3 separate regions of the Homo sapiens genome follow, and regions 1 and 2 are each linked to region 3. Evidence: promoter capture Hi-C in 16 types of primary human blood cells and fetal thymus (Javierre and others, 2016). All regions are on one chromosome and are shown on one strand. The core of a region is centred on a gene start or on the middle of the fragment in contact, and the rest is flanking DNA. Distances in the headings are between cores, read along the strand shown. Region 1 overlaps PROKR1 (prokineticin receptor 1). Region 2 has its middle 47 kb from the start of PROKR1. Region 3 holds the start of LINC01888 (long intergenic non-protein coding RNA 1888).

What was found. The method cuts DNA at HindIII sites, captures the fragments that hold promoters and counts their contacts. A CHiCAGO score of 5 or more calls a contact.
Region 1: a contact is called between a fragment that was not itself captured here and the fragment with the promoter of LINC01888 in region 3, in 1 of 17 cell types (activated CD4 T cells). The highest score is 5.7, in activated CD4 T cells.
Region 2: a contact is called between a fragment that was not itself captured here and the fragment with the promoter of LINC01888 in region 3, in 1 of 17 cell types (activated CD4 T cells). The highest score is 5.3, in activated CD4 T cells.

The regions. Positions count from the first base shown.
Region 1 is chr2:68,646,614-68,650,794 of GRCh38, reverse strand. The region is part of intron 2 of PROKR1 (prokineticin receptor 1); the gene reads right to left. Among named protein-coding and RNA genes, the nearest start is that of PROKR1, 5.1 kb to the right of the region's middle. The HindIII fragment of the contact is 167 bases long and covers 2,304-2,470 here.
Region 2 is chr2:68,594,816-68,598,608 of GRCh38, reverse strand. No RefSeq gene overlaps it. Among named protein-coding and RNA genes, the nearest start is that of PROKR1, 47 kb to the left of the region's middle. The HindIII fragment of the contact is 181 bases long and covers 1,427-1,607 here.
Region 3 is chr2:68,829,026-68,833,275 of GRCh38, reverse strand. LINC01888 (long intergenic non-protein coding RNA 1888) reads right to left here and starts at 1,268. Exons shown (of 2, transcript NR_183895.1): 1 at 1,124-1,268. LINC01890 (long intergenic non-protein coding RNA 1890) reads left to right here. Exons shown (of 4, transcript NR_183884.1): 2 at 226-444; 3 at 1,771-1,916. RefSeq lists an enhancer at 3,358-3,857 and a cis regulatory region at 3,543-4,174. The HindIII fragment of the contact is 9,437 bases long and covers 144-4,250 here.

The sequences.
Region 1 (4,181 bases), core at 1,138-3,637, 180 kb after region 3:
GGCACAAAATGATCTCACCCTTCTCTAAATGTTATTTAAAATTTATCCTTTACTTATTCTTTAACTGTTTTGTAAGTGTTAGTTCTCCCTGGTCCCACCCTACCCCCAACTCTAGATGGTCAGCCCCCCAAGAGCTGTGATTATGTCTTACTTCTTTTATAACCTTTTACTCTCTGTGAATTCTGAGTACCTAACAGGATTTTGGTGCAACTTCACCCTCATTGAGTGCCTAGCGCTGGGTGAATAGACATGTAAAAAGCTGGCTGGACACAGTGGCTCACACCTGTAATCCCAACACTTTGGGAGGTCGGGGCACAATAATTACTTGAGACTAGTTCAAGACTAGCCTGGGCAGCATAGCAAGATCTCATCTCTAAAAAAATTTATTTTTAATATATAAAAAGCCATGGGGACAGTTCTCAGAAAGATTGCAACTATTTTTGGGAAAACAGGACATAAATATGTTTAACCATGAGACTGGGAAGCAGTCTGGGGCTAGATAATAAAAGTTTGGAAGAACAGGTGAAAGAGTTTGAGCCATACTTTGTAGACAATGGAGTTATTAGAGGTCTTTTTTTTTTATACTTTAAGTTTTAGGGTACATGTGCACATTGTGCAGGTTAGTTACATATGTATACATGTGCCATGCTGGTGCACTGCACCCACTAACTCGTCATCTAGCATTAGGTATATCTCCCAATGCTATCCCTCCCCCCTCCCCCCACCCCACAACAGTCCCCAGAGTGTGATATTCCCCTTCCTGTGTCCATGTGATCTCATTGTTCAATTCCCACCTATGAGTGAGAATATGCGGTGTTTGGTTTTTTGTTTTTAAGCAGGAGAGTGGAGACACGTACAAGACAGAAGATTAATTTGGCTGCAGCCTTGCTTACTTCCCTCGGGCCACATGGAGGCTTCTCTCTGTTCCTCTGTTTGTAGAACCCATCTGGTTTGTTCCTGCCTCTGGGCCTTTTCACTTACAATCCCCCTTGTCTGGGATGCTTGCTCCCTGTCTTCCCAAGGCAGGCTCTTTCCCCCTGTGTCATTCAGAAGCCAGTTCAAAGGCCTCTCCTCGGAGACCCTTCTCTTGACTACTCACCTAGAATAGGTCCCACCCTCAGCCACCCTCGACATTTTACCTGTGTACTTCTTTTGTTCAGAGTATTTCTTGCTTCTGAAATTACCTTCCTTTTGTGTTTGCCTGACTGGATCTCTCTCCATCCTTTGGTTATAAGCTCCAGGAAAGCAAGGAGTTTTTTTTGTCTTATTCACTGTCGTATCTCCAGTGCTTGCAATAGCATCTGTCACATCACAGTTACTCTATAAAAATGGATTGTTTAAATGAATGAATGAATGAAAGTTTAGGATGGATTGTCAGGGGAGTAGCGTTGACAGATGGGCAGATCCAAGAAACACTGAAGGCAGGAAGACCAAGAGGAGACTAGGATACCAGCCCTGAATGAACAAACGGGTATTGCCAAGACCTGGAGGTTGAATGAATGCTGGTAAAGAAGGGAGAGCAGCCAGGACAAAGGAGACTTTCTTCTAGGTTAGATGCCTCGGAGAACAATGGAACCAATAATATAGACAAATACAAGCAGGTAGATGATAAATAGTTCTGTTCTGGCATTTTGTAAAAATCTTGTATTTTTTTTAAATCACATCATAAAAACAATAATTTCAATGAAAGCAAAAAGGTTAGTGTGTCAGAAATGTTCATTAGTTTACCTGCTTTTTTGTTGTAGACATTCCTATAAGGGTTAATTTAAGAATTATCATATCCACTGTTTATTTATTGCTTACTGTTTTGAATATTGTTCTAAGAAATTAAATATATTTATTTCATTCAATCCTCAAAGCAACCCAATACAATAGGCTTTCTTTTTATCCTCATTTTGTAGGCGAGAAAACTGAGGCAGAGAGAGGTCAAATAACTAACATAATACCCAACACACAATACAGCTGGTACTTAAACCCAGGCAGAATAACTGCCAACATGGCTACAGAAATTTCATTAAGCAAAAATAAAGACATTTTTACAACTAAGTAGATCTGTTATAAACCAAGATAAAAATTAGTTGCTCCCAACTGATCAAATCCTGAACAACACGTGAGACCAGAGAAAAATTAATGATTCCTAGACCACAATTAGATGGTAACAACACATACAAATAAAAATAATTGCAGCAAAGATCACAAACATCAATAAAAGAATGGGCATTGGTGCAGCCATTCATCCACCAAGACCATTGGGCAGCCCTGTGAAGGCACATGGTGCTTTCCTTGAGGTCTGGGTACAAGCTTCCTATCATAACCCCACTCAACCATAGAAGCTCCCACGGTGCAAAGCATTTTTTCTAATTCATCTTTCTTATTGTATCTAATTTCCTTTGTGTAAACTCACACTGCAAGAGAAATGCTTGCAGTATTTCAGACAAGCTCTGTTTGGTATGAAAGGAGGTTATAAGCTTGAAGAAGTTCAGTAGATGGAGACTGACTGATTGACATAGATATCACTCTTACATGTTCCAAATAACCCAATGCCCCTTAGTGTATCCTGGCTTCCTTTCCCCTTGAAGCTACTTCCTCCTACCATTGTTACTCCGTTCAAGTGGTAAAATGGATCTCATCCGGGGAGTAGGGTCCCACTCCACAGGAGGCACCCTACCCTGCTTTTAGTAGCTGAGCACATGTAGTTTCTCGCTAGTATGAAACTTCAGGAAATGACTCTGTATGCTTTGTCCTGTTCATGGGCTAAGAGAGAAGGTGGCGGCTTCTACTTTCAAAAAAGTTCAGAGACAAAGTCCCTGGAGCTCTTCCTTGGCAGCTTTGAAAGGAACCTACGAAGTAGATACTCTACTTGACTGCTCCCCTCCTGCTCCTTCAGTGGGTTCATGCGGGGTCCTTGTCCAGGTAAATGAAAAGCTGCAGGGCTCTTTGATTCAGTGGAGGGAATTTGGCCTCCAGGTAAATGAAAAGCTGCAGGGCTCTGTGATTCAGTGGAGGGAATTTGGCCAAGAAGAAGTAGCACTCTGCAAGGATCTACGGGGACAGACCAAGGGCTATGTAAGCTGCTAACTTCCTGATGTCCTTCCCTAGAGAAGGGAGGCAGAGTTTCCACCCCTCAGCGGTTTTATAGACAGAGGTTCCTTGGTAACCCCCTTTTTTCAGGTTATCCTTTTCGGTCATCCCACCCCTGGTCGCCCTGCCTACGGTCTCAGAAAACAAGCTCTCTTAGCTGTGCTCCTCCCTAGAACACTGTCCTGACTGTGAGGGCCAGGTCAAACCCCCTCAGATCCTTGAGGCCAGAGAACAGGGAGAGCATGTATGCCTCAGGCTCTCTGGGTTAAAGGAGAGAGACAGGCTGTTCAGATCCAAGTACACAGAAGCCTGATTTGATCCTCAGGATAATTGTCTCTAGACTGTAACCAGGTGCTTTGTAATGACAGTCCAGCTGTGGGCAGAGGAGCTAGCAAAGATTGTCCCCCGAGGAACAAAGACCAGCCTGGCCCATTAGCACAAGTTTACACTAAAGGAAGAGACTAAGTTGAAGAAAGATATGCAGAGGCTGCTCTTACTGATTTTATTTGCGATCACCAGAAACAGGTCTTCTGCACTATCTGTGCAAATGGACTAAAAGGTGCAAAGTGATTAATGCAACAACAAAAAGTAAATAAACATATGTTCCCTTTTTTTTCAAAACAAATCCCTCAATCTTTTTATTTTTATTTATTTATTTATTTTTTAGAGACAAGGTCTCCCTCTGTCACCCAGGCTGGAGCACAGTGGCATGAACATAGCTCACTGCAGCCTGGAATTCCTGGGCTCAAGTGATCCTCCTGCCTCAGCCTCTCAACTAGCTAGGACTACAGGCACACACCACCACGCTCAGCTAATTTTTTAATTTTTTCAAAAGGTGAGGTCTGGATATGTTGCCCATGCTGGTCTCGAACTCCTGGCCTCAAATGCTCCTCCTATCTCGGCCTCCCAAATTGCTGGGATTATAGGCTTGAACTGTTTACCACAGCCAGTCATAAATCCTTGAATCTTATTTAAAAACAGATGATGCTAGAAGGTCATATTTTAGTAGAGGAAGTCTTGATGAGATAGAAACCTCCTTCAAGATTTCCACATTGACTCAAGAGGTAACTGCCTGACGCTTAAAGTTTCCCTCGATATCT
Region 2 (3,793 bases), core at 268-2,767, 230 kb after region 3:
AAAATGAGTTAGGGAGGATTCCCTCTTTTTCTGTTGATTGGAATAGTTTCAGAAGGAATGGTACCAGCTCCACCTTATACCTCTGGTAGAATTTGGCTGTGAATCCATCTGGTCCTGGACTTTTTTGGTTGGTAAGCTATTAATTATTGCCTCAATTTCAGAGCCTATTATTGGTCTATTCAGGATTCAACTTCTTCCTGGTTTAGTCTTGGGAGGGTGTATGTGTCGAGGAACTTATCCATTTCTTCTAGATTTTCTAGTTTATTTGCGTAGAGGTGTTTATAGTATTCTCTCATGGTAGTTTGTATTTCTGTGGGATCAGTGGTGATATCCCCTTTATCATTTTTTATTGTGTCTATTTGATTCTTCTCTCTTTTCTTCTTTATTAGTCTTGCTAGTGGTCTATCAATTTTGTTGATCTTTTCAAAAAACCAGCTCCTGGATTCACTGATTTTTTGAAGGGTTTTTTTGTGTCTCTATCTCCTTCAGTTCTTCTCTGATCTTAGTTATTTCTTGCCTTCTGCTAGCTTTTGAATGTGTTTGCTCTTGCTTCTCTAGTTCTTTTAATTGTGATGTTAGGGTGTCAATTTTAGATCTTTCCTGCTTCCTCTTGTGGACATTTAGTGCTATAAATTTCCCTCTAAGCACTGCTTTAAATGTGTCCCAGAGATTCTGGCATGTTGTGTCTTTGTTCTCGTTGGTTTCAAAGAACATCTTTATTTCTGCCTTCATTTCATTATGTACCCAGTAGTCATTCAGGAGCAGGTTGTTCAGTTTCCATGTAGTTGAGCGGTTTTGAGTGAGTTTTTTAATCCTGAGTTCTAGTTTGATTGCACTGTGGTCAGAGAGACAGTTTTTTACAATTTCTGTTCTTTTACATTTGCTGAGGAGTGCTTTACTTCCAACTATGTGGTCAATTTTGGAATAAGTGAGGTGTGGTCTTGAGAAGAATGTATGTTCTGTTGATTTGGGGTGGAGAGTTCTGTAGATGTCTATTAGGTCCGCTTGGTGCAGAGCTGAGTTTAATTCCTAGATATCCTTGTTAACTTTCTGTCTCGTTGATCTGTCTAATGTTGACAGTGGGATGTTAAAGTCTCCCATTATTATTGTGTGGGAGTCTAAGTCTCTTTGTAGGTCTCTAAGGACTTGCTTTATGAATCTGGGTGCTCCTGTATTGGGTGCATATATATTTAGGATAGTTAGCTCTTCTTGTTGAATTGATCCCTTTACCATTATGTAATGGCCTTCTTTGTCTCTTTTGATCTTTGTTGGTTTAAAGTCTGTTTTATTAGAGACTAGGATTGCAACCCCTGCCTTTTTTTGTTTTCCATTCGCTTGGTAGATCTTCCTCCATCCCTTTATTTTGAGCCGAATAGGGCTATGATTTTTATAACATCTGAAACTCTGCTAAAAGACTCCAAAAGCTTATACAGACAACTTATATTTGATGTGTCTGTTATGTAAAAACATTTCTTAAGAAAAAATATTCTGAATACAGGTAAAAGACAGTACCTCTGAAAATGTTGGGGTTGACATATTGTTTCATTTCAATATAAAACAAAATAGATTTGGGAATAGCCTCCATTTAGAATAATTTTCTTTAAGCTTACTGGGTACTTCAATATCTATACTGAGAGTATTTTCTCCATTAACGATATTATGTTCTGCAGAGAAGAAACAAATGAAGGCATAAACAATTTCAAATTCATTAACCATAAATGACAACTGTGAACAAGACTTCAGATAATTTTATGAAAAAATTAAAAATTAGATCATATTTTAAAAAATACATTCTTTAGTAAAATACTACTGTCACAGAATTAGAGACAAATATGGTTAAGAAACTGATTCAAGTACAAGAATATGTATGAAGAATAAATATTCTGCTTGTATTATTTTTTTAAATTTAAAAACATAATGAAATTTTAAATTTGGGCTAATTATAGACACAGATGTATTTATATTTTTAAAAGGATTTCATTTTTGAAAAATGATTTGAATAAAACTATTTTGCAGGTCTGCTAATACAACAAAAAAAAATTTGTTGTTTAATAAATAAGTATTTTAAAAGCATTTTAAAAGATTTTAGTGTTCTCTTTCATTTTCAGAAGTGTTCCAATGTGGTGTTGAATTATAGTCACCCTCACTGTACATAACATATCTGGACATCCCTAAACATAGGCTAAACATAGGCTCATCCTTACTTGTCCTTAGACTCAGAAATTTCATTTAAAGATGAGGCTGCCTCCCATAGGCAGCTGTATTCTTGAAGGCTACACCCTCCACTAACATGGGAGGACTGGAGAAAATCCAAGCTAGGTACCAACCAGACAAAGAAAGAACCCCAGCATGTTCTGCAATAGCCAAACTGATCCTGATAAGGAAGGGAAATTTTCTCCCAAGCAATTGATTCTCTTTGAAAGATTTGAGAAAAGGGTGCTGGGATTTCAAAGAAGAGGGCAACCTGCAGAGCCCACAAAGTAAGGGAAAGAAAGGTCACAAAGAGGACTTTGGATACACAAGAAAATAACAGCTGCATTACTCACAGTAGCAAAGACATGGAATCAACCCAAATGCCCATCAATAATAGACTGGATAAAGAAAATGTGGTATATATACACCACGGAATACTATGCAGCCATAAAAAAGAATGAGATCATGTTCTTTGCAGGGACATGGATGGAGCTGGAAGCTGTTATCCTCAGCAAACTAATGCAGGAACAGAAACCAAACACCACATGTTCTCACTTATAAGTAGGAGCTGAATGATGAGAACACATGGACACATGGGGTGGGTGGGGAACGACACAGGCTGAGGCCTGTCAAGAGGGAGAGCATCAGGAAGAACAGCTAATGGGTGCTGGGCTTAATACCTAGGTGATGGGTTGATCTGTGCAGCAAACCACCATGGCACACGTTTACCTATGTAACAAACCTGCATATCCCGCACATGTACCCTGGAACTGAAAATAGAAGTTGATAAATAAAAATAAATAAATGCTGATAACTTGGAAAAAAAGAGAAAAAGAAAATAACAGCTGCAGTTACATGTATCTAGTGCCACCACACCATGTGCTAAGCACTTGATGGACACATTACATACATATTTTCTCCTCATCCTTTCAACACTTCTACAAGATGGGTGTGTTATCCCCATTTTCCAGATAAAAATCTGAAGCTCACCCAGGTCTGGGAGCTCTTTGCTGCTACACCACCCTGTCTGCCCCGGTAGAGGGCGATGGAGAGCATATACAAAAACAAAAAGAAAACAAAACAAAAAGCATGTAAGTAAAGAAAGGCAAGTAAATCAAGGTTACAACTGGAGAAAACGATTTGTTCTTATAAGCAAGAATGACTAAAGACCTTAACAGACTATGAAAAACCTAGATGTTCAAAATAAATTGGCTTTGGATACACTTGAGAACAGTGGGCTGCCAGAGCCCTTATTAAGTCTACCAGAAACAAAAATGCCCTCTTTTGGGTGAAACATGTGCAGGGAGCCAAAGCTGGATATTAATTACCGAGTGACTTCAACTACCAGCCACCCTCTAGAAGTCCGCTGTGAAGTGGAATGTAAAATAACACAGGTAATCACAGACACAGGTTGCTGGAAATGATGCAAACACATTATTCTCCCCAAATTAAAACACTCTACTCATGTCCAGAGCTTGAAAATTTGTTTCCCAGTAAAGGTCAAGAAAAGCAAACATTGCTTGAATTTAATTATTAAGCCAGCTGTCAGTCACTGGCAGTGACACAAGCAGGAAGACATTTCAAGGCAGGAAATCAGCTG
Region 3 (4,250 bases), core at 19-2,518:
AACTATGTCTTTAGTCAAGCATAACTCTTTTAAAATGCCATTAACTATAGGAGGAAGAATCAGTGTTGTAACATTTTGCTATTCCTTGAGTACAATCTATGTGTACTAAGAAAAGACATCATTGGTAACACAACTACCAAGCTTATCTAGGGATCAGCTATCTCAAGATAGGCATAGCAATTGCTGGATGCCATATGATTTCCATGTATTTTATTTCTCCAATAGCACTCACATTCTTTGGGAGCTGTATTCTAATACTTTCAGAAAAGCCATGGGAACACACCAGAGTGACTGCTCGAGTAAATAAGTAGCATAAACAGCAAGCCAAACCATTGATGTACACATCACTGGGCCCAATACTATGAAATCCCACATAAGAAACTTGAAAGTGAAAGCTGGAATTCTGAGGATACTGGTTTTGCTTAATAAACAGCATTTCAACAGGTGAGTCAACTTAGTATTGCAGAGCGTGGTGTTGGCTTTTTTCTGATTGGGGCTAGTTTTTCATTAAAGGCAATATCTAGCACTGAAATAGACAACAGTACCTAGTCCCAACCACCTGCTTCCTGGTGAGTCAGTTCAAGTTCTCACAATTGTGTCTGTGTCCAGCCCCAGACCAGCTGAGCTGGGTCATGTGCTCACCCAGATCTTTCCCTAAAAGAGGACTGACAGGGAAACCACTGCCCTCTTTCACATCCAGGGAAGGAGTGACTTCTAAGAGAAATAGGGTTTTGTTTCCTCGCCAAAGTGTCAGGAATGATCAAATGTGAAAAACAGAGGGCAAATCCGTGTTAGTGCGTCATTAGGTGGGTGTTTCTAAAGTGATCACATGGTAACACTTCCTCTGCTCGCTGACCCACCAGGAGTGTTTTGGAAACAGTCAGCCCACGTGAAATGGGCTGAAGACATCCCAGTGTCCTCCTCTCAGAAGCTGTGAGCCCCAGTCAGGGCGGGCTGTCTTAGCCTGTAAACGTCCACAGGGCCAGAGCCTATATTTAACTGATGACACATCTTACAAGGGGGAAGGGAAGGGGAATCTGTGACCCTGTTTCCTCCCACCAACACCAGCCCATTCACACAGAGTCTTTTGAAGGTCTCACTGGCAGTACTCCTTCAAACTTACCCAATATGCCCCACTCAAAGGCCCTCCCAGGCTTGTGGGAACAGAAAGATTTCTTGAAATGGAAAGGAGGGTTGTGAATGAGTGAGGAAATTCAGCATGGAGATATGAGAGGCTCACTCTTTAGCCACACGGAACCGGGGACTCCAAGGCAACCCCATTCCCAGAGTTCTTTCGAGGGTGGGGCTAATGACATGGGACCAAGAATTGACTCCAGGAAAGGGCATGGTGATGTGTGGCCTCCCAGACAGCCTCAGAGCAAGCAGGTGGATTTGACTTAGGCTGTGGGGAAGGCAACAGCCTCTGTATATTTTTCCATCTTGATGCTGAGTCAGACAAGGCAGTTAGTGGTTCTTTCCAGAATCCCTGCCAGCCTTTTAAAGAAAAAGTCTTTGCAGATTTTGCTTTAGTCCATCTCTGCCAAGGGGTCATTTTCTATGTTGTACTTCCTCCCTATGTGAGGGCAAGGATAATGTAGCCTTGTGTAGACTGTATATACGCTTCAGTTCCTAGCTAAGCCACATTGAGACCTCAGTAAAACAGGTTTGATTGCAATCAGAAAAGAGTTGATTTGAGATTTAAAGGAAATGACATGGATACAGTGCTCACCAGAAAGTATTAAAATGGTATTTGTTGCTTATTATTGGTAGTTATTGTCATGATATTGCTACTGATGCTGAACAAAGACCCAAGAACCAGGGTGATGTTTAGCATGGGCTGGCCTCAGCAGGACTGAAAGGACATCAATAAGGGAGAACAGAGAGAAGGAAGGAGGACAAGTGCCAACTTTGAGCAGGTATCAGGTGTATGTGGGGGCAAACCATTTCTCCGTCCACCCTGATGATGAGTCCCCGTTTCCCTTTTTAAGGCCTGATTTTTGCACCCTCACCCCACCTAAGGCAGCCAGGGGCCCACACTGCAATACTCCTAGGTAACATCCATACTTTTTTTTTTTTTTTGAGATAGAGTCTCCCACTGTCACCCAGGTTGGAGTGCAATGGCGAGATCTCGGCTCACTGCAACCTCCGCCTCTCAGGTTCACGTGATTCTCCTGCCTCAGCCTCCAGAGTAGCTGGGATTACAGGCGCACACCACCATACCCGGCTAATTTTTTGTATTTTTGGTAGAGACAGGGTTTCACTATGTTGGCCAGACTGGCGTCGAACTCCTGACCTCGTGATCTGCCCGCCTCGGCCTCCCAAAGTGCTGGGATTACAGGCGTGAGCCACTGTGCCTGGCCAACATCCATACTCTTGATCTGTTCCTCCACCCACAGCACTGCTTATCTGGCCAGGCTCTCGTTCCTTCATTACACAGCTTTCTGCTGGGAAGCAGATAACTAATATAAAGATGATACTAACGATTAATGGAGGCTTCATGGAGTCTCCCAGAAATATCACGTTTGTGGTTAATATTCCAAAGGCTACTGGTAGGGATTTCTCAATCTAACATGAGTCTGAAAAAGAGATGATTTTCATCAGAGCTATTCTCGGGACTCTTTAAATCAGGCCCTCAAGTGCTTATCTTCTTTGCCTATGTTTAGAGTCAATCCTTAAAGCAAGTAAACAGTGTCCCCATATATTTAGGAATTCTCAAAATCCTTGGATTTGTTCATACTAAGCTACTGTTATACTCATTTTTTAAAAAAATTTTGGGCTCACTTTTCACCATCTGCATAATGGGCATATAACATAAATCCATTCTGTATCACTTAATCATGTCTTATCCTAGATGAATAAACACATGAAAAATCAGCCTGTAAATCAGAGAATGTAGCTGTGTTAACTGGAGATGGGAAAGGGGAGCAGGTAGAATTAATATTACCATTAGTCATGACTAAAGCCAAACTTAGCAGTTTTAAAACTATTTAACCATCCTGATTGTATATTGGAATCAACTGGGAATTTTTCTTTTAACTACCAATTCTTAGGCCCCATCCCGAAAGATTCTGATTCAATTGATATGAAGTAAGATCTGAGCATCAGAATTTTTGTTTACAGTTCCTAAGGTAATTCTCTTGTGCCACCAAGACTGAGAACCAGTGTTTTAAAATAGTATTGGGAATACACAGTAGGTGAAAAACTGGCATCATATTAGGTGGGTCTTGGTTGTGATCATGAGCTGAGGAGAGCTCTATATTCTGGAAGCACTCAGCAACGGATGTTCAATGGGGTTCACACCATGGTTGCAGTTTGGGGGAAAGAACCCTTGGAGAGAAAGCAAGAACCACAAGAATCACTGAATCATGGGTTAGAGGAGCCCTCCAAAATCACCTCCTTCAATCCTCTTCCTAATTTCTGTGTGAGCACTGGCCATTTAATTTATGTTTCTGGGCCTCAGTTCCCCTGTCCGTTAAATAAACAGGTTGAATTAAATACAATCAGAGTGTTTTCCAGTTTTTATCCTATGATTCTAAGAGAGTTTCCAGCATCAGAAGAAATAGAAGCTACAGTTACACAGCTGTGTCGATATTCTCTCCTGGGACATCATCTGAGCCACAAGCCCCCTGGCTCCAGCCTCTCTGCTGCTGCTGGCCAGATGCCACCCTGAGCTTCTGAGTGGCAGCTGGAGCTCCACCCTCAGGGCCTCCCTCCCATCATTCTCTGGCAGGATGAAAGGTTTTGTGTAATTCTTGTAAATGCAGCCCATTTTAATTGCAGAAGCAGCCTCCAAGTGTTTTCTCTGCTCTCCGGCAAGCACGTGACCTGACCACTGCTGCTATCTGGAAAGGAAGTGGTGGAATGTGGAAGTTTACAGGGCGTTCGTGTACACGCATCTTCTGGCCCAGAGCCCGTGGAATCCAGCCAGCAGTTGCTGTGCCACTGTGTTCTCTGGCCTCCCCCTCTCAGCGGCCTTGGGCAGCCTGGGAATCTCCGGCTTCGTGCTTTTCTGAGGGGACAGGCCTTTGAGCAGAGTTTTAGGAAGTTGGTCAAAACAACAACAACAACAAAATGTTTATAGTTTACATCCTTTGCAGCTGTCTATGCACTAGGAATGCCACACATGGTCTCTCCAGACTGCAGGCTCTGAACAGAATCCACTGGAAGGGGATCATCCCAGCCAATACCCTAGTACAAATTGTCCTATCCAGTGTACAGACTTACTGGAAAAGCATCATATCTGCCCCAAA